Linked DNA regions of Homo sapiens: all the other regions are linked to region 4. The links are contacts of gene promoters, found by promoter capture Hi-C in blood cells and fetal thymus (Javierre and others, 2016). All regions are on one chromosome and are shown on one strand. Each heading gives the region's core, a stretch centred on a gene start or on the middle of the fragment in contact. The rest is flanking DNA. Distances are from core to core; before and after follow the strand shown. Region 1 has its middle 5.3 kb from the start of PLAC8L1. Region 2 holds the start of SH3RF2 (SH3 domain containing ring finger 2). Region 3 has its middle 5.0 kb from the start of PRELID2. Region 4 holds the start of YIPF5 (Yip1 domain family member 5). Region 5 overlaps LINC01844 (long intergenic non-protein coding RNA 1844). Region 6 overlaps LARS1 (leucyl-tRNA synthetase 1). Region 7 overlaps GRXCR2 (glutaredoxin and cysteine rich domain containing 2).

The links. The method cuts DNA at HindIII sites, captures the fragments that hold promoters and counts their contacts. A CHiCAGO score of 5 or more calls a contact.
Region 1: a fragment that was not itself captured here is called in contact with the fragment with the promoter of YIPF5 in region 4 in 1 of 17 cell types (M2 macrophages); the score reaches 6.2 in M2 macrophages.
Region 2: a contact is called between the fragment with the promoter of SH3RF2 here and the fragment with the promoter of YIPF5 in region 4, in 2 of 17 cell types (M0 macrophages and M2 macrophages). The highest score is 10.7, in M0 macrophages.
Region 3: a fragment that was not itself captured here is called in contact with the fragment with the promoter of YIPF5 in region 4 in 4 of 17 cell types (monocytes, M1 macrophages, naive B cells and 1 more); the score reaches 8.6 in monocytes.
Region 5: a contact is called between a fragment that was not itself captured here and the fragment with the promoter of YIPF5 in region 4, in 4 of 17 cell types (total B cells, naive B cells, fetal thymus and 1 more). The highest score is 6.0, in total B cells.
Region 6: a contact is called between a fragment that was not itself captured here and the fragment with the promoter of YIPF5 in region 4, in 6 of 17 cell types (M2 macrophages, M0 macrophages, neutrophils and 3 more). The highest score is 13.3, in M2 macrophages.
Region 7: a fragment that was not itself captured here is called in contact with the fragment with the promoter of YIPF5 in region 4 in 2 of 17 cell types (M1 macrophages and M2 macrophages); the score reaches 7.1 in M1 macrophages.

Annotation. Positions count from the first base shown.
Region 1 is chr5:146,109,524-146,112,223 of GRCh38, forward strand. No RefSeq gene overlaps it. Among named protein-coding and RNA genes, the nearest start is that of PLAC8L1, 5.3 kb to the left of the region's middle. The HindIII fragment of the contact is 1,496 bases long and covers 589-2,084 here.
Region 2 is chr5:145,935,185-145,937,884 of GRCh38, forward strand. It overlaps SH3RF2 (SH3 domain containing ring finger 2), which reads left to right and starts at 1,394. Exons shown (of 10, transcript NM_152550.4): 1 at 1,394-1,510; 2 at 2,639-2,700. LOC107986458 (a long non-coding RNA gene) reads right to left here. Exons shown (of 4, transcript XR_001742913.2): 4 at 517-579. RefSeq lists an enhancer at 1,132-1,709. The HindIII fragment of the contact is 1,154 bases long and covers 867-2,020 here.
Region 3 is chr5:145,839,024-145,841,723 of GRCh38, forward strand. No RefSeq gene overlaps it. Among named protein-coding and RNA genes, the nearest start is that of PRELID2, 5.0 kb to the left of the region's middle. The HindIII fragment of the contact is 9,611 bases long and covers 1-2,700 here.
Region 4 is chr5:144,169,273-144,171,972 of GRCh38, forward strand. YIPF5 (Yip1 domain family member 5) reads right to left here and starts at 1,387. Exons shown (of 6, transcript NM_030799.9): 1 at 1,263-1,387; 2 at 574-693. The coding sequence starts at 683. It overlaps KCTD16 (potassium channel tetramerization domain containing 16), which reads left to right and starts at 1,601. Exons shown (of 4, transcript NM_020768.4): 1 at 1,601-1,737. RefSeq lists an enhancer at 1,249-1,528. The HindIII fragment of the contact is 8,610 bases long and covers 1-2,700 here.
Region 5 is chr5:142,747,146-142,749,845 of GRCh38, forward strand. The region is part of intron 1 of LINC01844 (long intergenic non-protein coding RNA 1844); the gene reads left to right. Among named protein-coding and RNA genes, the nearest start is that of LINC01844, 2.9 kb to the left of the region's middle. The HindIII fragment of the contact is 720 bases long and covers 1,046-1,765 here.
Region 6 is chr5:146,130,434-146,133,133 of GRCh38, forward strand. LARS1 (leucyl-tRNA synthetase 1) reads right to left here. Exons shown (of 32, transcript NM_020117.11): 23 at 2,465-2,648; 24 at 586-676. Among named protein-coding and RNA genes, the nearest start is that of PLAC8L1, 26 kb to the left of the region's middle. The HindIII fragment of the contact is 1,595 bases long and covers 613-2,207 here.
Region 7 is chr5:145,864,013-145,866,712 of GRCh38, forward strand. It overlaps GRXCR2 (glutaredoxin and cysteine rich domain containing 2), which reads right to left. Exons shown (of 3, transcript NM_001080516.2): 2 at 2,489-2,700. Among named protein-coding and RNA genes, the nearest start is that of GRXCR2, 7.7 kb to the right of the region's middle. The HindIII fragment of the contact is 211 bases long and covers 1,268-1,478 here.

The sequences.
Region 1 (2,700 bases), core at 87-2,586, 1.9 Mb after region 4:
GCATAAAGGCAACAGGACTCCCTCAAGCCTCTTTTGTAAGAGCACTAATCCCATTCATGAGGAAGCCACCCTCATGACCTAATCACCTCCTACAGGCCCCACCTCTTAATACCAACACCGTGAAGATTAAGTTTCAACATATAAATTCTGGGGGGACATGAACACTCAGATCATAACAGCAGGATATTCATATAAGCCTCAAAGTATCAGCTCACAGACTACTTAATTACAAAAAGGAAGAGTAGCTTTTCAACCGAGAAATATGATGCTAATCAAATCCACAATACATTAATCCTGACATGATCCAGTGGGAAACATCACCTATGTAGTAATCTTGCCAAGAATTTTAAATCTGATTACAACCATGAGAAAATACAGAAATCCAGATTGTAAGCATCATGCTAACGACCAGCTTGATGTCTTCAAAGATGTTACTGTCATGAAAGATCAAAAAAAGAACAGAGAAACTACCCTAGTTTAAAGGAGATTAACAGACCTAACCACAAAATGTAATACTTGATCTTTGAATCCTGAGAGTTTTTCAAAGAACACATTATTGATGAGACATTGGGGAAGTTTTACTAGAAAAGCTTATTACCTAATATTATTGTATCATGTTAAATTTCTTGGGCATAATAACAACACTGTGATTATATAGGAGAATGTCCAAGTTCTTAGGAGTTGCGTGATAACCTATGGGAAGATGAAGTGTCATGGTGTCTGTAACTTACTGTCAAATGGTTCTGAATTTTTAAAAAATATTTTCTAAATACAATGTGTTATCCTGGATAGGATCCCATAATAGTAAAAAAAATTAATAGAAAAATTGGTGAAATCCAAACAAAGTATACAATTTAGTTAATCATAATGTACTCATGTTAATTACTTAGTTTTAACAACTAAACCAAGGTTAAGTAAGATGTTAACAGGAGAAACTGTGTAAAAGATGTACAGGATCTCTCCATATTAAAGATGCAACTTTTATGTAAGTCCAAAACTATTCCAAAATTAAAAGTTTATTTTAAAAATAGATACTTAGAGAGATAAAGTAAACGTGACACAATATTAACAATTGGCAAATCTAGGTGACAAGCGCATGGATGTTTACTGGCCAATTCTTTCCACTTTTCTGTAGGCTTAAAATTTCTCGAAATGAAGTGTTAAAAGAAAATAAAACTACTGAAGGTTAAAAGTAAATGAATGGAAAAGATAGTCTGCATGGACGTTAACCAAAAGATAACTGGTGTTACTATATTGTTAGGCAAAGTGGTCTCTAGGCAAAAAATAAATTAATTAAAAATAAAGAGAAATGGCCGGGTGCAGTGGCTCACGCCTATAATCCCAGCACCTTGGGAGGCCAAGGCAGGTGGATCACGAGGTCAGGAGTTCGAGACCAGCCTGGCCAAAATGGTGAAACCCTGTCTCTACTAAAAATACAAAAATTGTGGGGGGACGGGGGAGGGATAGCATTAGGAGATATACCTAATGCTAAATGACAAGTTAGTGGGTGCAGCACACCAGCATGGCACATGTATACTAACCTGCACATTGTGCACATGTACCCTAAAACTTAAAGTATAATAATAATAATAATAATAATAAAGAAAAAGAAAAAAAATACAAAAATTAGCCGGGCGTGGTAGCAAGTGCCTGTAATCCCAGCTACTCGGGAGGCTGAGGCAGGAGAATCGCTTGAACCTGGGAGGCAGAGGTTGCAACGAGCCGAGATCGTGCCACTGCACTCCAGCCTGGGCAAAAAAGAAACACTTTCTAACTAGAAAAAGTTCAACTTACCAGAAGGAATATAATCTGAATTTATATGTACCTAACAAAACAGCCTCAAAATATATAAAACAAAAACTGTCAGAATTATAACAAGATACAGGTAAATTTCATTGTCATGAGAGATTTTGGTATACCTCTCAAAAACAGAAAGAGAGAAAACAGTAAGGATATAGGTTTGAACAATTCAATCCACAACTCTGACCTAATGGACACATACAGTACTTTTGCATTTACAGAATATATATTTTTTTCAAGCTCAAATGCAACATTTATAAAAACTGACATATACTGGGCCAGAAAGCTTATCTCTAGCGACCAGAGAAGGCAAAAGGCAGACCTCTGTGGTGCTGGCACTGTGCCATTCTTCAACTGTTTGGTGACTGTGCAGGTGTTTGCTTTATTAATAAATTCTTTTTTTGGAGGTGGGGAGAGAAAGGAAGTTCATTTTTTGTGTGTGTATATTTTTTGCTCACTTTTTGTGTATGTGCATTGTATTTCAAAACTTAAAAAGAGTTAAAATCCTCTAGGAAGGCACTAACATAAGTTATATATAACATTATTATTATGCACCCAATTATATTATTGTTAATAATAGAATAAGCCCAGTGTAGCCTGTTTTTCCTTCAGCATTTCAACTAACTGCTGGTTCTTCTGTTGAGTACCAGATGAAGTAATGGGCTTATGCTCAGACGACTCCTTATACAAAACATTTGTATCTCTACACATAAGAAGCATATTCAGCACAGCAAGAAGCTTATTCTAAGAGAGACACACAGAAATCAAGACTGAAAAAACAAAGGATCCATGAATCTCAACTCACACCTAATCCAAAACAGTACAGGTTCATAAGATGAACACAATCACAATATTATTTTCCTTTCTCTCTCTTTTTTTTTTTCTGGCCAAGCACACATA
Region 2 (2,700 bases), core at 144-2,643, 1.8 Mb after region 4:
CTAGTTTCTAGTCCCAATTCTGCCCCTAACTCACTGGACAACTTCAAAGAATCCCTTGATCTTTCTGGGCACAGCTGCCTCATCTGTAAGAGAAAGTGAGTAGCCAGTTTTGTCCATTATCTTTTGACCTCTTGCCCTCTTAGGGGAGGCTTAGCTCCCTTGAACCACCTCTTCACCTCTTTTTTTTTTTTTTTTTTTTTGTCGCCCTGGCTGGAGTGCAGTGGCACGATCTCAGCTCACTCCAGCCTCCGCCTCCCAGGTTCAAGCGATTCTCCTGCCTCAGCCTCCTGAGTAGCTGGGACTTCAGGTGCGCACCACCATGCCCAGCTAATTTTTGTATTTTTAGTAGAAATGAGGTTTCACCATGTTGGTCAGGATGGTCTTGATCTCCTGACCTTGTGATCTGCCCACGTCGGCCTCCCAAAGTGTTGGGATTACAGGCATGAGCCACTGCGCCTGGCCAGCCTCTTAAAGTTATATCACTCCATGACATTGTTAAGAGCACAGCCCACTTGCCTTCTGCTAGCTGTGACTCCCGAGATGAGTTATTTATCCTCTCTGTGTCTCAAGTTCCCTCATCTGCAAGATGAAAGTAAAGAATAGTTTAGTGTCTCCTTGGGTTGTTAAGGGGTTAAAGGGCTAACACAGGTAAGGTATTTAGAACAGTGGTTGACACAGATAAGGACTACCCTGGCATTAAGATTGTTATTATTCACTTAATCGGATACCTTTGTAATTTTACATGAAATGTATTATCGATAAATCAAAAAATAGAAATATAGGCATAATCTGAGGATATGAAAAGACTACAGTGGATAACAGGCAGGAGGAGAGCTTGGAGGCCACTGCTTTTCCTTTTTTGAAAAAGCTTCTCTGTGCTTTGATTTTTCACGTATGTGTATATACGTGACACTAGTTTTTTAATTTAAACAGATTGAGCAAAAAGATCACTAAAGTCCCTCTTATCTCTAAATTCAGAGATTGACTATGATTTTCAAAGAGCAATATTTTCTAGGTGTCCGACTTATCCTTGTTTTCATAGCTTGACCATTTTTACTTTTGACCTTCCCAGGAAATCCTTATGAAGATTTAAAATAAACACAATCACTTTGGTATGTTTATAATGGAGCAGGTTCTGACTCCTTGGATACTACAGAAAACGGGAAAGGTGAAAATATGAACTTTGTAAATACTTGGCCTTAGGGACTGGCTTATATTTTACCTCTTACAATCTTTTCCCAGAAGCAATTCAGTAAACTGAAGGAAAGATCATAAAGTTAACAACTGCAACAACAAAAGCGTGGTAAGTAGGCAGCGCCCTGGCAGTGAAAGCGTTAACAGGGCTGGGTAAGGCGATCCCTTGAAATGAGTAAGACTGAGTGGTTAAAGTTTTCAAAGCGGTTGGCAGCAGCGGCGCTTGGAGGAAAGGAAGCCGGTTGGAGGGCGCAGCGCACCCCTGCTGCGCGGAGGAGGGGGCTGAGCTGAACTCAGCAGAAGTTACATGCACAAGGTTAGTGGCCCCCACACGCCTCCCCAGCCCGCTGCCGCGCTGACATCTTTGGAGAGGAGGCTTAGGAAGGCGAGGCGCCATCGCTCATTCTCGGTCGTGTCTGTCCTGCTTACTAGTCGCTAGTGGGGCCACTGGCCTTCTCGCCAAACCTCTGGGCTCGGTGCTTACCGAAGCCCTGGCACTTGTGAGGGACAGCTGACTTCTTCCAGACTTTTCTAAACTGGAGGCTTCTTTTCATACATCCAAAAGGAAACTTGTTTCTGGAACAAGTACTGTTTTCAGAGTACACACACACACGACCCCTACCTGTATATGCTGCCCCAGTACGGTTTTTACAGGTCGTGACCACAATCCAGAATTCCTATCTGCTTCATTTGAAATTGAGAACAATGTCAAAGTAACTAAACAGGCTGCACTACTTTACCTTGTGGGAGGAACATTGTCTCTGAGCCTAAGGTAATCGGGATGAGGAGAGAAAAAAAAAAAAAGATGAAAAAAGAAAAGAAACAAAGCTTCCAAGCACCCTGACCTGTGGTTAAGGCAAAACAATTTTTGGAAATGGGTTTCTAGTGGAAATTTTTCTTGTACATTGCTAGAATCATGTGGGAAGGTATATTGTGAAGGAAATAATTCTACATCTGCATGAGATTCAGATAAACTTACCCACCTAAACTAATCTGCATGTGGTGCAGATAATAGATACATTTAGATTTAGGGGAAGGAGGAGGAGGAGATAGCTTCACAGAAATTGCGTTCGGAGGGGGCTTTGTTGTAAGAATTGAGACTGTCCAGGAGCTTTCCCCGGGCAGGGGGTAAAGGACCTCTTCCCGCCCTGGCTGGTAGAGAGGGGTTGGGGGGCCACTTCAGCAGGCCAGTTTATCTCCCTGCTTTCCTGTCCACATAGGCAATAAGCAGTCAGTCTTGTGCTGAATGTTCCCTCTGATCCTCACAGCAAGCACGAGTTGAGTCTTATACCTGCTAGCATTGAATCAGAATGAGTCATTTGAAACTTGGGTGCCGGAACAAAGTACTTGCAAACTGCCTTATGAGACACTGCCTCAATGTAGGTGGGATATACCTCTCGGAGCAGTCACATTTTTTTTTCTCTCCTCTCCCTCCTTCAAGCAGGCAAAAATTCTGACGTTCTCAAGAGACCAGCTCTGCCCCCGTGGCTCAACTGACCCTACCAT
Region 3 (2,700 bases), core at 114-2,613, 1.7 Mb after region 4:
CTGTATATATAAATCACTGTTACTGTGACATTCTCAAGACTGGAGGAACTGCATATATTATTCACTCCTCTCTATCCAGTGCCTAGTAAAATGCTTGGCACCTAGTATATGTTGAATAAACTCACGAATGTACTTAATATAAAATATGACCTTGAACAAAATCCTTCCTGCCCCTGCAGCTCAGTTTTTCCGTCAACAAAAACTGAAATGCAGGGGCAGAAACTGAGTGGGCCAAGACTGTCTCTAAAATCCAGCAACCTGACATTTGAGATGTGAGCTAGAGACACAAGCCAAGGCAGGGAACAGGGATATAGTTATTGAAACCAGGGTACAGAATGAGAATTTGCAAGGAAAACAAAGCAAAGTATCAGAATAGATTCAAATATGTAAAATATCATGTATGATAAGTAAGCGTGGGTACTAAGGAGACAAAAACTGGAGAAGAAGGATGAGAAGTGATGGCAGGGCAGGGGAGAGAGGAGCAGTGTTAAAATTTTTTAAAAGAGCTAAGGAAGACCTCTCTGAGAAAATGACATTAAAGTAGAAAAGTTGCAAGAAGAGGAGGGCAAGTCATGCTCGTATTTGGAGGAGGATCATTCCACGTAGAAGGAATGGCAGGTTCCAAGACCTGAAACAGGCATTCTCCTGATACATTTCAGAGCTACAAGGAGGCCAGTATGGCTGTTGCAGAGTTCCTGAGATATAAGGTCAGAAAACATGAATCTAGGTCACATAGGGTCCTCCAGGCCATGGTAAAGATGTTGGCTTTATCTGTATGAGATGGGAGGCCATTGAGAGTTTTGAGCAGAGGAGAGACATGATCTCAACTGTATATTTTAACAGAATCATTCTGGCTACTTACAGTTTGGAGAAGTGACTATGGGGAGGCAAAGCAAAGAAAGAGACCAATTAAGAGGTATGATATTTTACATATATATATGTAAAATTTCCTCCCCAACTCCCACTCCTCACTAAACTCCACTCCTCCACGTATAAATATAGATTCATGGTTCCTGGCTGATAACTCCCATAGCCCTTGCTACAGTCTTTTGCTATAGTATTGGGACACTTTAGGCCTCAGAAGCAGGCTTTTCTCTCTCCGACCTTCTTCTGACTTCCCTTCACCTGCCCAAGGCAGGACTCTAATCTTTCCTGGCTTTTCTGATTGATTTCTCATTCCAGAGAGTGTCCCACCCCATACCCTGCAGGAAGAAATGCTGCACAGGAAGGCCAAGAAGAATCTAGACAGGCGGGCCTTACTAGGTTTCCTGACTCAGTCTGTTAGTATTATATCATATCCTTTTTTGCCTAATCGTATTTCTACCTGGTTATCTTCAATCATGTCTATCCAATGGAGTCTTGCTAAGAGACCCAAAAGAACAGGGTTCAGAGAGCTCCCAGCTAGCCAAACATATGGAGATTCCTGGAGGATGGTGCATCCAGGGAGGGCATGGAAGCTCCATGCCTCTTCCCCTATACCTTGCCCTATGCATCTCTTCAGCTACATCCTTTGTACTATCCTTTATAATAAACTGGTAAATGGAAGTAAGTGTTTCCCTGAGTTCTATGAGCTGCTCTAGTAAATTAACTGAATCCAAAGAGAGGATCATGGGAAGCCCATCTTGAAGTGGGTCAGTCAGAAGTTCTGGAGGCCAAGACTTGCAACTAACATCTGAATGGGGGACGGTGGGGACAGCGGAGTGATCTTGTGGGACTGAGTCCTCAACTTGTGGGTTCTGAATTATCTCCAGGTAGTGTCAGAATTGAATTGGAGGACACCTGGCTGGTGTCCACTGCAGACCTGAGTGCTTGCTTGCTGTGTGGGGAGAAACCACACACACATTTGTATGTGTGCTGGCAAACCTTAGAATTTCATGACCTTATTTGGTCTTTAAGATAGCAAATATCTTACAAAGATATTTCATCATACATGAGGGCCAAAAATTGCAGTTGTGATGGTACTGCAGATAACATTATTAATAATATTATGTATTAGTTTATTTGACTCTCACCACAATTGCCATTACTGAAGGAGGGCAGAGGAACTCAGGAGTTTCATACTGACCTAGGCAACATGGTGAAACCTGGTCTCTACAAAAAATAGAACGTCTTCTGTGTTGATGATTTTTGTAATGTGAGAGCACAGGAAAAAAACATGATTTGAGCTTGTTCTCCCCTCAAGAGGTGATTGCCATAATCTAGATAAGAGGAAATGATGGCTGAGACCACAGTGGTATCAGTGGTGATCAGTTTTTAGGTTCTGGATCCCTTGTGAAGGTAGAGCTGGAAAGGTGTGCTGAAAGATCAGAAGTGGGAAGAAGAAGAGCCAAGGCCCAGTCTGGCCACCATCTAGAGAAAGCCTGTCTGACTGTAGAGGGAAATAAAGCCAGATGTGTTCATTTTCAAAGTGCCACAAATGGATGGCTTGAAAAACATAAATTTATTGTCTCACAGCTTTGGATTCCAGAAGTCATAAATCAAGGTGTTGTTGGCAAGATGGATTCCTTCTGAGGGTTCAGAGGGAGAATCTGTCCCATGCCTCTCCCCTAGCTTCTAATAGCCCCAGGCATTTCTTAGCTTGTGGATGGTCTTCTTGTGACTTCACATTGTCTTCTCTCTACACTTGTCTGTTTTTGTGTCCAAATTTTTATAAGAACTTTAGATTAAGAGCCACCCTAATGACCTCAACTGTTATACACA
Region 4 (2,700 bases), core at 137-2,636:
CTTTGAGTCAACCTCCTCAGTATGCAACTTATAACACGTGTGGCACTGACCATAAGGGTTTGAGAAGGAGGAGTAATAAAAATGATTATCAACTGCTGTATGAAAATCGCCTGATGATTCGTAATAAGGAGCTTACATCATTAAATAATGTCACTAAGCACTTTCAATTAGCACTGATAAAAGTCTCAGAGTTGGACTGATTTAACTACTAACAAAATACTTTAATTTTTCACTGGTCCTATGAACTAACAGCCTATCTCCTAGGTACCTGAAGCTCCCATCATCTTCTAAATACAGAAATACTGTTACTAGAAAACAGTTCTTCAAACAAGCTACTTTTCCATTCATGGTACACCTGAAGAGTTTGCAGAAGACACTCAACTCTTAAATAGAACAATACCTTCGAAGCCAAGCCAGTGTCACATATCTCTCTAGAGGAAGAAGATTATGCATGAAAGATCATACTCCTGATAAAGGACATGTTCACATATTGTTTTAGGCAGAACCAAATATTCTAAATATGTGTTTTCACTGCAATGTAGACTAAATTAATTGCCAAAGATGAAAAGTTACTTGCTATAGGGTCCTCCACTTCCTCCATAATCATAGGACTGCTGTGACTGATCATCGATGCTGTAACTTGTCTGGTAGAAATCCGTGTTTAAGTTTTCAAAGCCTGACATTGCAAATAATCTGTAATAAAAGAGAAATGGCAAATATTCCTTATGCCCAAGGTTCTACTGAATTCGTTCCTGGCAGTCTGCTTAAGCAAATAGAAACACAACAAATATTTTTTCAGTAATTCGGAGAGGGGATGGGGGCGGAAAGTACGCAGCATTTGAACGACGGTAGCGGAGAGAGAGTAAGAAAATGTATATTCTTTTAAGTTGCGGCCCAGTAAGACAACTCCACCTTAAAGAGCTGATATGCCTTCCATTAGGGGCGAGGTCGTGGGAGTTGTGGTTCCATAAGCGGTCTAAAATATCAATAACAACAAAGATGATTTTTCACCTTAGGACTGGGCTTTACAGCTGACAAGGCGACTGCTTCCTTGCAAAATAAGGCCTGCGGCCTGCCAGGAAAAAGTGCAGAATCTGGAAGGTCGCGCCTGAGGTGCAGGGGACCGCGTCAGGGCAAGGGCTTGAATGAGAGCGAGGGTCTGAGCGAAAGGACCAGGGCGCGGCGCCGAAAGACGGCAACAAGCCCATTTGCACGGGTGTGGAGAGAAGCTGAACACTGTGCCACGGGCCTGGGTCACTCACCAAACTCTGAGGCTGCGCTGGCGGCAAAGGCAGTAGCTTCACTAATCCCAAACAACCCCCAAACTCTGTTTCAGACCCTGAACCAGCCCCGTTGCTACGTGTCACAGGGCCAAAGAACGGCTTCCGGGGCACGCCCGCTCGCGCAGGCGTGTTAGCAGGTTGGGCACCGGTGGGCGGGAGGAGGAGACACGAGTATGGAGCTTGCGCAGTATCTACCCAACCTGCGGCTGGCCCGTGCCAAAGAGGAAAGTGCTTCCGGCAGCCTGGTTAGGGGTGGAACCAGGAAAGCGCAGGCGTAGCAATTGCTGCTTACTCGTAGGTAGGAGGAGGAGTTTCTCAGACCTAGGTGATGGAGGAAGACTGGGAGGCGCTAAAATGAGACAGACGGAGTCCCCTCTCCTGTCCACAAACTACAATGCCTACAATGCCTCGGTGTCAGCATTTACTGTGATTCAAGCACTGTGCTAAAGTGTTTGTATGTATTATTTAATCTTTACAACCTAATGAGATGGTTACCCTATTTCCCTTTTGTAAGTGAAGCTATTAAGTATTCATTCATTCTGTGCTAGCTGCTGGGGATACTGTGGTAAATATAAGCTAGGTGACATCTACCCACCTGGAGTTGGTGGTGGAGAGGGGTAATCGAACACATACAAATGCATGTGAAATTGCTACTAATATTCTTTAGTGTTCCATAATTCTTTGAAAGAGTAACATTCATCTGGGAAGAAGAGTCTGTAAAGCCACTATAAGAGGGTTATCAAAGGGTGAGTGGGAGTTAGAGAAGACCAGAAAAGAGAAGAAAGGGCAACGGGAAAGGAGGATAAGGGAAAATAGCCTGAATATTTTAGGCAAAGAGAACAATGTGTGCAAGATCTGGGAAGCATGGTCTGAGGAAAGATGAAAATCGAGCTCTGAACTTCAGCATTATTAACATTTTGAGTCAGGATGTTTCTTTATTGGGGGCTGCCCTGTGCATGATGCTTAGCAGTAGCATCCCTAATCTCTAGCCATTAGATGCCAGTACTCCCCCCAACCAACCACCACCACCATCACCACCAAGTTGTGACAGCTAAAAATCTCTCCAGACATTGCCAAATCCAAATGTCCTTGGGGGCGGTGGGGGCAACATTAGCTGAATTTGTCAACCACTCTTCTAAGTGGAACCTGAGTGACTGGAACAGCAAGTGAGGGGAGCCACATAGGAGTTGAGGCTGGAATAACAGGAAGGGGCCAGGAAATATCCTGTGGGATTTGTGTGTTGGTTCTAAAAGAAGTGAAGATTGTGAACTGATGAGTGATGTTTAAATTGTTTTCTTTTGAAAATGATTGCTTTGGCTCCTGTGTTAAATCACTTTCCCAAGATGGTGGAATCCCGAATATTGTGACTCGAAATAAGATGCTATTAACTAATGAGCAGAACTTTCTTCAGGGTTTA
Region 5 (2,700 bases), core at 156-2,655, 1.4 Mb before region 4:
TTCTGTTCCTCATAAACTCAAGCCAAAGCATGACTATGCATAGAACATGCAACAGCTCTTCAGGAAGGGAAATTGCTGCCCAGGATTCCAAATTTGAAATCATGCAATGCTATTTAAAGGCTTGGCCAAACTTCAAAGTTGGTTGAATTCACTAGGGGTAACCTGGAATTTCTGTTTCCCAGAAAGGGATTTCTTGACATTTTCTCCTAACCTTGTGATGGTCCCTTATTCTGAGGACCCTATAGGATATTCACTGATTCTATAAGCATTTTTTGAGAACCTCCTCTGTGCTAGGCATGTGCTGGTAATATTGTGGTAGACAGAACATAGTGTTTGCCCTTAAGGAGCTTATAGTCTAGTCAGGAATATAGAACATGACATGGGCAATGAGTTCAGTTGTCTTTTTTTTTTTGAGCTACAATGCCACATTTAATATTCTTTCCAGTGATGCCTTGGACTAAGCAGGTACTTTCAATTTAAGGCAATGGGTCACAGTGTAAGGAAGACTTGGGGACAGATAGGGACACACAGGTAAGTGATTGGTCATGTTGCACATTAGCCCTATTACTTAACCTCACTGAGCTTCAAGTTTCCCCTCTGTAAAATGGGAATAATAATACTGGCTTTGAAGGGCACTGTAAGGATTAAATGAGGTAATACGTGTCAAACATCTATCATCGTGCCTGGTTCACAGCAAGTGCTCATAACTGTTAACACAGCCAATAAAGGTGAGAAATAGTGAGGATGTCAGTAACAATAAGAAAGAGTAAAAACTGTAACAATGAGATGGGGGTAGAAATAAAATATAGGCTGATGAGAGAAAAGGGTTCAATCACTGAAGCTATTTTCTCTGCAAGTCACCCCTTAAAATGTGTATTCGGATGCAATTTCCAGCCTTTAAAAAAATACATAAAGAGTCAACTTTTTATTAAATTTGTATGTAAAGGGCAGATATAGCTGAATGGGAGCTGGTTTAAACTGAGCCCAAACTTTTTTCCTTTTTCTTTTTTCTCTTGTCCTTTCCTTCCCTGGGTCCAGAACAATAAGCTTTGTTTAGAGGAAGAGTATTTACCCAAGGCCTGTTTCCACTTAAGATATTTCAGCAGGACAGTGAATAACCTCTTACACTATTGAGAAATTTTCACTGTCTGGAATTACTGGAACAAAGATGTCATTATTAAAACAAACTTTTGACCTTCTATAGAACGGTCACTTTAGCTACAAGAGAATCATTCACAATGGCTTTATAAGAATGGAAGCTATGACATCATTATTATATACAACACTCTATCAAAGATCTTGATTGTGAGAATCAGTTAGAATTCTTTGGTGGCAAGCAACAGAACTAACTCTGGCTCACTTAGGCAAAAGAAACAATTTATTCCAAGGCTATCAGGGTTGCTTACAGATCTGAGGGAAAGGCTGAAAAACCAGGTTTCTGAGAGCACAAGAACCAGGGCAACAGCTTAGGAAGCAGAAACTAACAGATTTTTGGGGTCACCCGTACCAGATGAATCAACTTCATTTATTTTGTCTCTGCTTCAGCTCTCTCAGTATTTAATTTCCTGGGAGAGAAAATCTGGTTGGCCAAACTTGGGTCTTGGGCCCAGGGGGCAGCCAGAGGGCAGCAGAGCACCTTGATTGACAGTCCTACAAAGCCTTCCTCCAGTCAGTGAGGGGCAGGTAGTTCCTTGAGGAAACTGAGGCTTGGCCACCCAAAGTGGGACTAGATCATGGGAAGATATCAATACTTTCATACTACGCAAGCTTCTAGGGCAGAGATATCATGGAGGAATCATCACTTTACTTAAAGGGACAACTGAGGAACTGAATTAAAGTAGTTTGCCCAGGAGCCACAGGTAGTGGCAGAAAGGAAATGTTCTGACTCCTACCAGCCAAATGGGAATTTCCCTTATTCCATCCAGTTGGCTAAAGCAGTGGTTCAGAGACTTGGCAGTGCATCAGAATTACCTGTGGAGCTTGCTAAAAATAGAGAAGCTAGGTTTGGCATAGGGCTGGGGCATCTGTATTTTTAATAAGCTTCTTGTGTGATTCTGCTTACAACCAACTTGGAGGCCCACTACATCATCAAATTTCCATAGGATCTGATATAGGAAAAGAACATTGCAGAAATAAAAATGGGATAAGGTATGATACAGTTTGAATATTTGTCCCCACCAAATCTCATGTTGAAATGTGATCCCCCAATGTTGGAAGTAGGGCCTAGTGGGAAGTGTTTGGGTCACAGAGGCAAATCTCTCATGAATGGCTTGGTGCCCTCCTTGCCATAATGAGTGAGTTCTTACTCTATTAGTTCATGCGAGAGCTGGTTGTTTAAAAAGCCTGGCGCCTCTCCTCCATCTCGCCTGCTTCCTCTCTCACCATATGACTCATCTTCTCTCCTTTCACCTTCCTCCATGAGTAAAAGCTTCCTAAAGTCCTGACCAGAAACAAATGCTGGTGCCATGCTTTTTGTACAGCCTGCAGAACCATGAGCCAAATATACTTTTCTTTATAAAGTACCCAGTCTTGGGTATTCCTTTATAGCAATGCAAAATGGATGAATTTAGTAATTTTAGGGGAAAGGTTTGGGTTTGTTGACAACATTTTTTGAGGTCCAATTTGTGTTAGCTGATTTCATGGTTTGAGGTTTGAGGGAATGTGAGGACAGGGAGAGGTCTTTCCCTATTTGTGACAAGC
Region 6 (2,700 bases), core at 160-2,659, 2.0 Mb after region 4:
TAAGGGTGACTGCTCTTAGCAGCATATAGGATATTAAATATAAAAAAAGACTATAAATACAACACATTGCTATGCCCAGCCATTTATCCTTATTTAACCACAACTCTGAAAACCAAGTTATATAAAACTCAATGTGATATTTTACACAGCTCATTGCGTAAAGCTACATTTTTACTTTAAGCACTTTAAATGCCAAACTTGAGGAAATACTGACACCTTGTGGAAAACCTCAGAAAACGCTTGCTCTCAAATTAATGGCAATTAATTACAATTTTGCCTTTGTTTTTATCAATTTTGAAATGTTTTCCTGGAAAGTATAGCTGAATTTTAGATTTAATCTCCTTTATATTAATGCTCATAGCTTAACTAGGAGCAGAATTATTAAATTAAATGGACACAATAGAAAAAATACCAAAGATAATAACTTAAAATCACAATTTATTGAAGAATTTAAAATTTTTCTGGCAGGATTTTCAGTCTACACTTTAGGCGAGTAATTGTGCTATAGCAGGAAGAAAAAAGGGGGAAAATACATAATGTTCACATTGACATGTTTTATAGCTACCAAAAGAATCAACAGCCTACCTGAAACTCAAAAAACCCTGTTTTCAAAGCTTCTTTAAACATCATCTTTTCATAGTTTTGATCTGTTTTTATAATTCCTGCATTCAATTCACTATTGAATACGGGGAAAAAAAGGTTATTGAGTTTAAAGGCACTTATACATAGCTATAAAAAACTGCTGCATACACAAATTTAAAATACTGCTTTTTAATATACAAATTTGAAATACTGCTCATTTAAGCAGTAAAATGAGAACAATGCCCAGAACATTTAAAACTGCTCAACACAACACCATCTTTGCGTTCCTTAAAACAAATTACTGCAATCTCTCTATTGTCTATCCATCCTTAAGTACTGTCATCTGACACTGCTTAGGGCTCCTGTTTATGACAATAAATGATGCTTCTTCAGAAATTTCCTGATGGACACTTTATTCTTATAAAGCCCAAAATGCAACATGAAAATAGCCTAACTAAGGTTGTAGCCAAGTTTTTTTTTTTTTTTTTTTTTTTTTTTGAGACAGGGTCTCTGTCACCTAGGCTAGAATGCAGTGGTATGATCACAACTCACTGCAGCCTCAAACTCCTAGGCTCAAAGAATCTTCTCACCTCAGCCTCCCAAGTACTAGGACTACAGGCGCAAGCCACCACACCCAGCTAATTTTTTTTTTTTTTGTAGAGACAGGATCTCACTTTGTTGCCCTGGCTGGTCTCAAACTCCTGGGCTCAAGCAATCCTCCCACCTCAGCCTTTCAAAGTGCCTGGTTTACAGGCGTGAGCCACAGTGCCTGGCCATAGCCAGGTTTTAATTATTGCATTTACAATAACTAATACTGGATATCAGAAAAAAATTTTCTCATACCAATCCAGGTTCTTCTTAATTTGGCCTAATCTGGCCCCAACCTGTTTCATTTCCTACCTCTGCCCACAAGATAATGTACTTCAAATAAATATCAGACCCTTTCCATGGCTTATCCACACTTTCTCCTCTCCCTGAAAACATTGTTTATTTTTCAAGAAACCCAGAATTTGGCCGGGCGTGGTGGCTCACGCCTGTAATCCCAGCACTTTGGGAGACTGAGGCAGGTGGATCACAAGGTCATGAGTTCGAGACCAGCCTGGCCAACACAGTGAAACCCCATCTCTACTAAAAATACAAAAAATTGGCCAGACGTGGTGGCAGGCACCTGTAATCCCAGCTAGTAGGGAGGCTGGGGCAGAAGAATAGCTTGAACCTGGCAGAGGCTGCAGTGAGCTGAGATTGTGCCATTGCACTCCAGCCTGAGTGACAGTGCGAGACTCTGTCTCAGGAAAAAAAAAAAAGAAACCCAGAAGTCACATGACATCTCTGAATTCTCCTTGTCTCTATTATTGTGCTTAGAAACTGGGTGTTTGTCTCTCTTGCTAGACAATAAGGATCAGGTCTCATTCATCTTTATAATACCAGTGCGTAGGATGACTCCAAAGATATTTATCCTTTTCTTTTAATCTACTTTTCCTTTAACCATTTTGCCCTACTCGAAAACAAGACAACATGGTAAAATGGTTATGAGAACAGACTTTCAAGACAGACAGAAGCAAGTTCATATCCCAAGTTTGCAACTACTAGCTTTAAGGCATTTAAGGAAATACTTAATTGTTCTAAGCTTCAGTTTCTTTATTTATAAAATAGAGCTAATAATATCTGTATTAAATAAGGTTGCTTTGAGGTTAAAGTCAGATAATGGACACAAAATACTTAGCATAGTACCCGGCACAAGTAAGCCTTCAATGAACACTAGCTATTATTATCATTAGTTTATTTTATTAAAAAAAAAAAAGAAAAGAAAAGAAAAAGAAAACAAAAATGCACCAGGACTAAGTAACTCTAAAACACAAAATGATTGGGATCTACAGATTACCTGGCAAAAACTCTATCATTGAAAGTGCTGGCAGGACCACTTCTTAGGCTGTCCCAGTTGGCAACCATTTCTTTCACCCACTCTACCCAGGTGTACAGACGGAGAATACCTGCATCTGCCATGGCTTCCACAAAGTTGGCATCTTCTACAGTGTCACCAGCATCAGCCAGAGCCAAACGCATTCCTGGAAGAAGAAAAAAAAATTCAATGCATTAAAAATATGGTTACTGAGTATC
Region 7 (2,700 bases), core at 123-2,622, 1.7 Mb after region 4:
GGTAAGAGCAAACACCAACCAAATAATCACACAAACTAAAGTAAGATTGCAACTCTGATGAGGGGTGTAAGGTGCCCTGACAGGTCAATCCTAGAGGATTTTTTTCCTCATGGAAGCCAGGGAAGATCCCTCTGAGGAAGTGATGCCTCCTCTGAGATCTCAGAAGCTGAAGGCAGGGTGGTGGGAGTCTGGGGACATTCCAGGCAGAGGGGATTGGCCTCTGGTAGGAAAGAGAAAATAATATATGAGGGATGGAGATGGGGAGATGGGCAGTGTGTCTGGGGCCAAGAGCATGAGAAAAGATGTGTAAGAGATGATGCTGGAGGGGCCAGCAGAGGCCAGGCTACACAGAGCTTTCTGGGACAAGTAAGGAGTTTGCGGTTTTATCCCAAGCAATGAAAAGACACTGAAAGCTTAGAGGGGGTGACTGATATGGTTTGGCTCTGTGTCCCTACCCAAATCTCATCTTGAATTGTAATCTCCATGTGTCAAGGGGGGAACCTGGTGGAAGGTGATTGGATCATGGGGGCAGTTTCCCTCATGCTGTTCTCGTGATAAGTGAGTTCTCACCAGAGCTGGTGGTTTTAAAGCATGGCACTTTCTCAAGCTCTCTCTCTCTCTTTCTCTCCCCTGCTGCCATGTAAGATGTGCCTTGCTTCCCCTTCACCTTCCACCAAGATTGTAAGTTTCCTGAGGCCTCCCCAGCCATTTGGAACTGTGAGTCAATTAAACCTCCTTTGTTTATGTATTACTCAGTCTCAAGTACTATCTTTAGAGCAGTGTGAAAACGGACTAATACAGTGACAAAGGGGGTGACCTAATCAGATTACATTTAAAAATATCTTTTTGAGTGTGGGGGCAGGTTGGAAAGGTACCTGAATGGATGTGAGTGGAACTTTCAGAACCTTTTGCTAGAGTCCCAGTTGCTTATGCTCTAGGGGAAGGGAAGGAGAGGTAGAAAGGAAGAGAGAAAAAAGTAGATTTTAGAGAAATTGTGGAGAGGTAGATAGACTTATGATATGGGAGAAATGAGATAAGAAGGAGCCTTTGGTGCCTCTTGTCTAAGGCCATTACTCAAAGCCCAGTCATGACCTTCTTGTTCTCATCATCTGAACCCTCCCAGAGTAGAGACATCACTCAAGTTCCAGAAAGCCCCTGACCAATTTTTTCATAGCAATCCCAGGAGATTACAGTGAATCCCACAGAAAACATCAAGTCCCAGGAGATGGAATCTAAGAGAGAGAAAATTCATTCATCCAGCTACCCAAGCTTTTAATCTTTCGGCTTAAATGCATCAAAATTGCTTCCTCCACCCCCAACCTCACACTGTGAATGAACGAATATCAGCCCTCCTCCCCCTGGTCTGAGCATGTCTGAGCTATGGTTTCCAAGGTGGTGCGTGCACACTTCTAAGGGGTATGAGAGGAAAACATTGGAATATTCATATTTACTTTTTATCTACAATTAGGCAGATATTAAGCTTTATTAACATTTTTAAAAGAATTTTTATACTAACTTTTAATAAACTTGTGGACACTGACAGCCATATTAGGTCAGGCAGTCACTAGACAAGTGTGGTACCCAAGGGACCCTGGAGTAAGAGTGATGTTCAAATGTTGCTGACAGTAGCGTCCAGCTCACTTGTTCACTTTCAGCACATTGCAACATGTTGCAGTTTACTTGTGCCTGGTCTAGTGGATTTACAAAGGATACTCCTTAGTTTTAGCTAAACTAATCTGCCAAATGGAATCATGACTTTACATGATGTCTTCCAGGAGACTATGGATCAAGGATAACACCAATAATAGAAGAACAAGTGAACCCATAAGAAAAGATAGGGCCAGGCCAGGCACGGTGGCTCATGCTTGTAATCCCAGCACTTTGGGAGGCCGAGGCAGATGGAACACTTGAAGACAGGAGTTCGGGACCAGCCTGGACAACATGGTGAAACCCCATCTCTATTAAAAATAAAAAAAAATTAGGCATGGTGGTGGGTGCCTGAAATCCCAGCTACTCAGGAGGCTGAGGCAGGAGAATCACTTATCCAGGAGACAGAGGTTGCAGTGAGCAAAGATCACGCCATTGAGATCCTGCCCAGGCAAAAAGAGTGAAACTCCTTCTCAAAAAAAAAAAAAAAAAGAAAGAAAGAAAAAAGAAAATATAGGGCTGATATATTTTTCCACCTCTAGAACCAGCTGTTCATAAACCACACTGCACAGTGAAAACAATAAATATTTAATCAGATCTAAAAAGAAGTCAGCCAAAAAATTAAAAATTTAGAGTATCTGAAATATGGACTTATAACTGCTATTGCTAACAATGTACCATTAAAATATAACAAATGTTAAAATTCCTCATATCTTCAAGTTTAGGTATCTTAAGTATTCATATTCAAAAGGTTTTACTTAAGCAGTGCACAATCAAGCCAGCTTGGAGACCATTGCTGTAGGGCCAGCTCCGAGCAGGACAGTCAAGCTCCCCAACGCACCTGTGTATACCGGTTTTGGGGTAATGTGCTTTCTGCCTCCACCAAAGGTCTATCGTGCTGGTCCCTGCCTCCATAGCTTTCTTCTTTGTTCATCAGAGACTCTTCCTCAGCCTCCTCTTCCTTCTGGAGAATTTTCCTCACAAAATCTCTCTTGTCCATTGGGGTTCGAATGATTTTCAGGTTATTAGTGTAGATGATTATCTTTCCAAAAT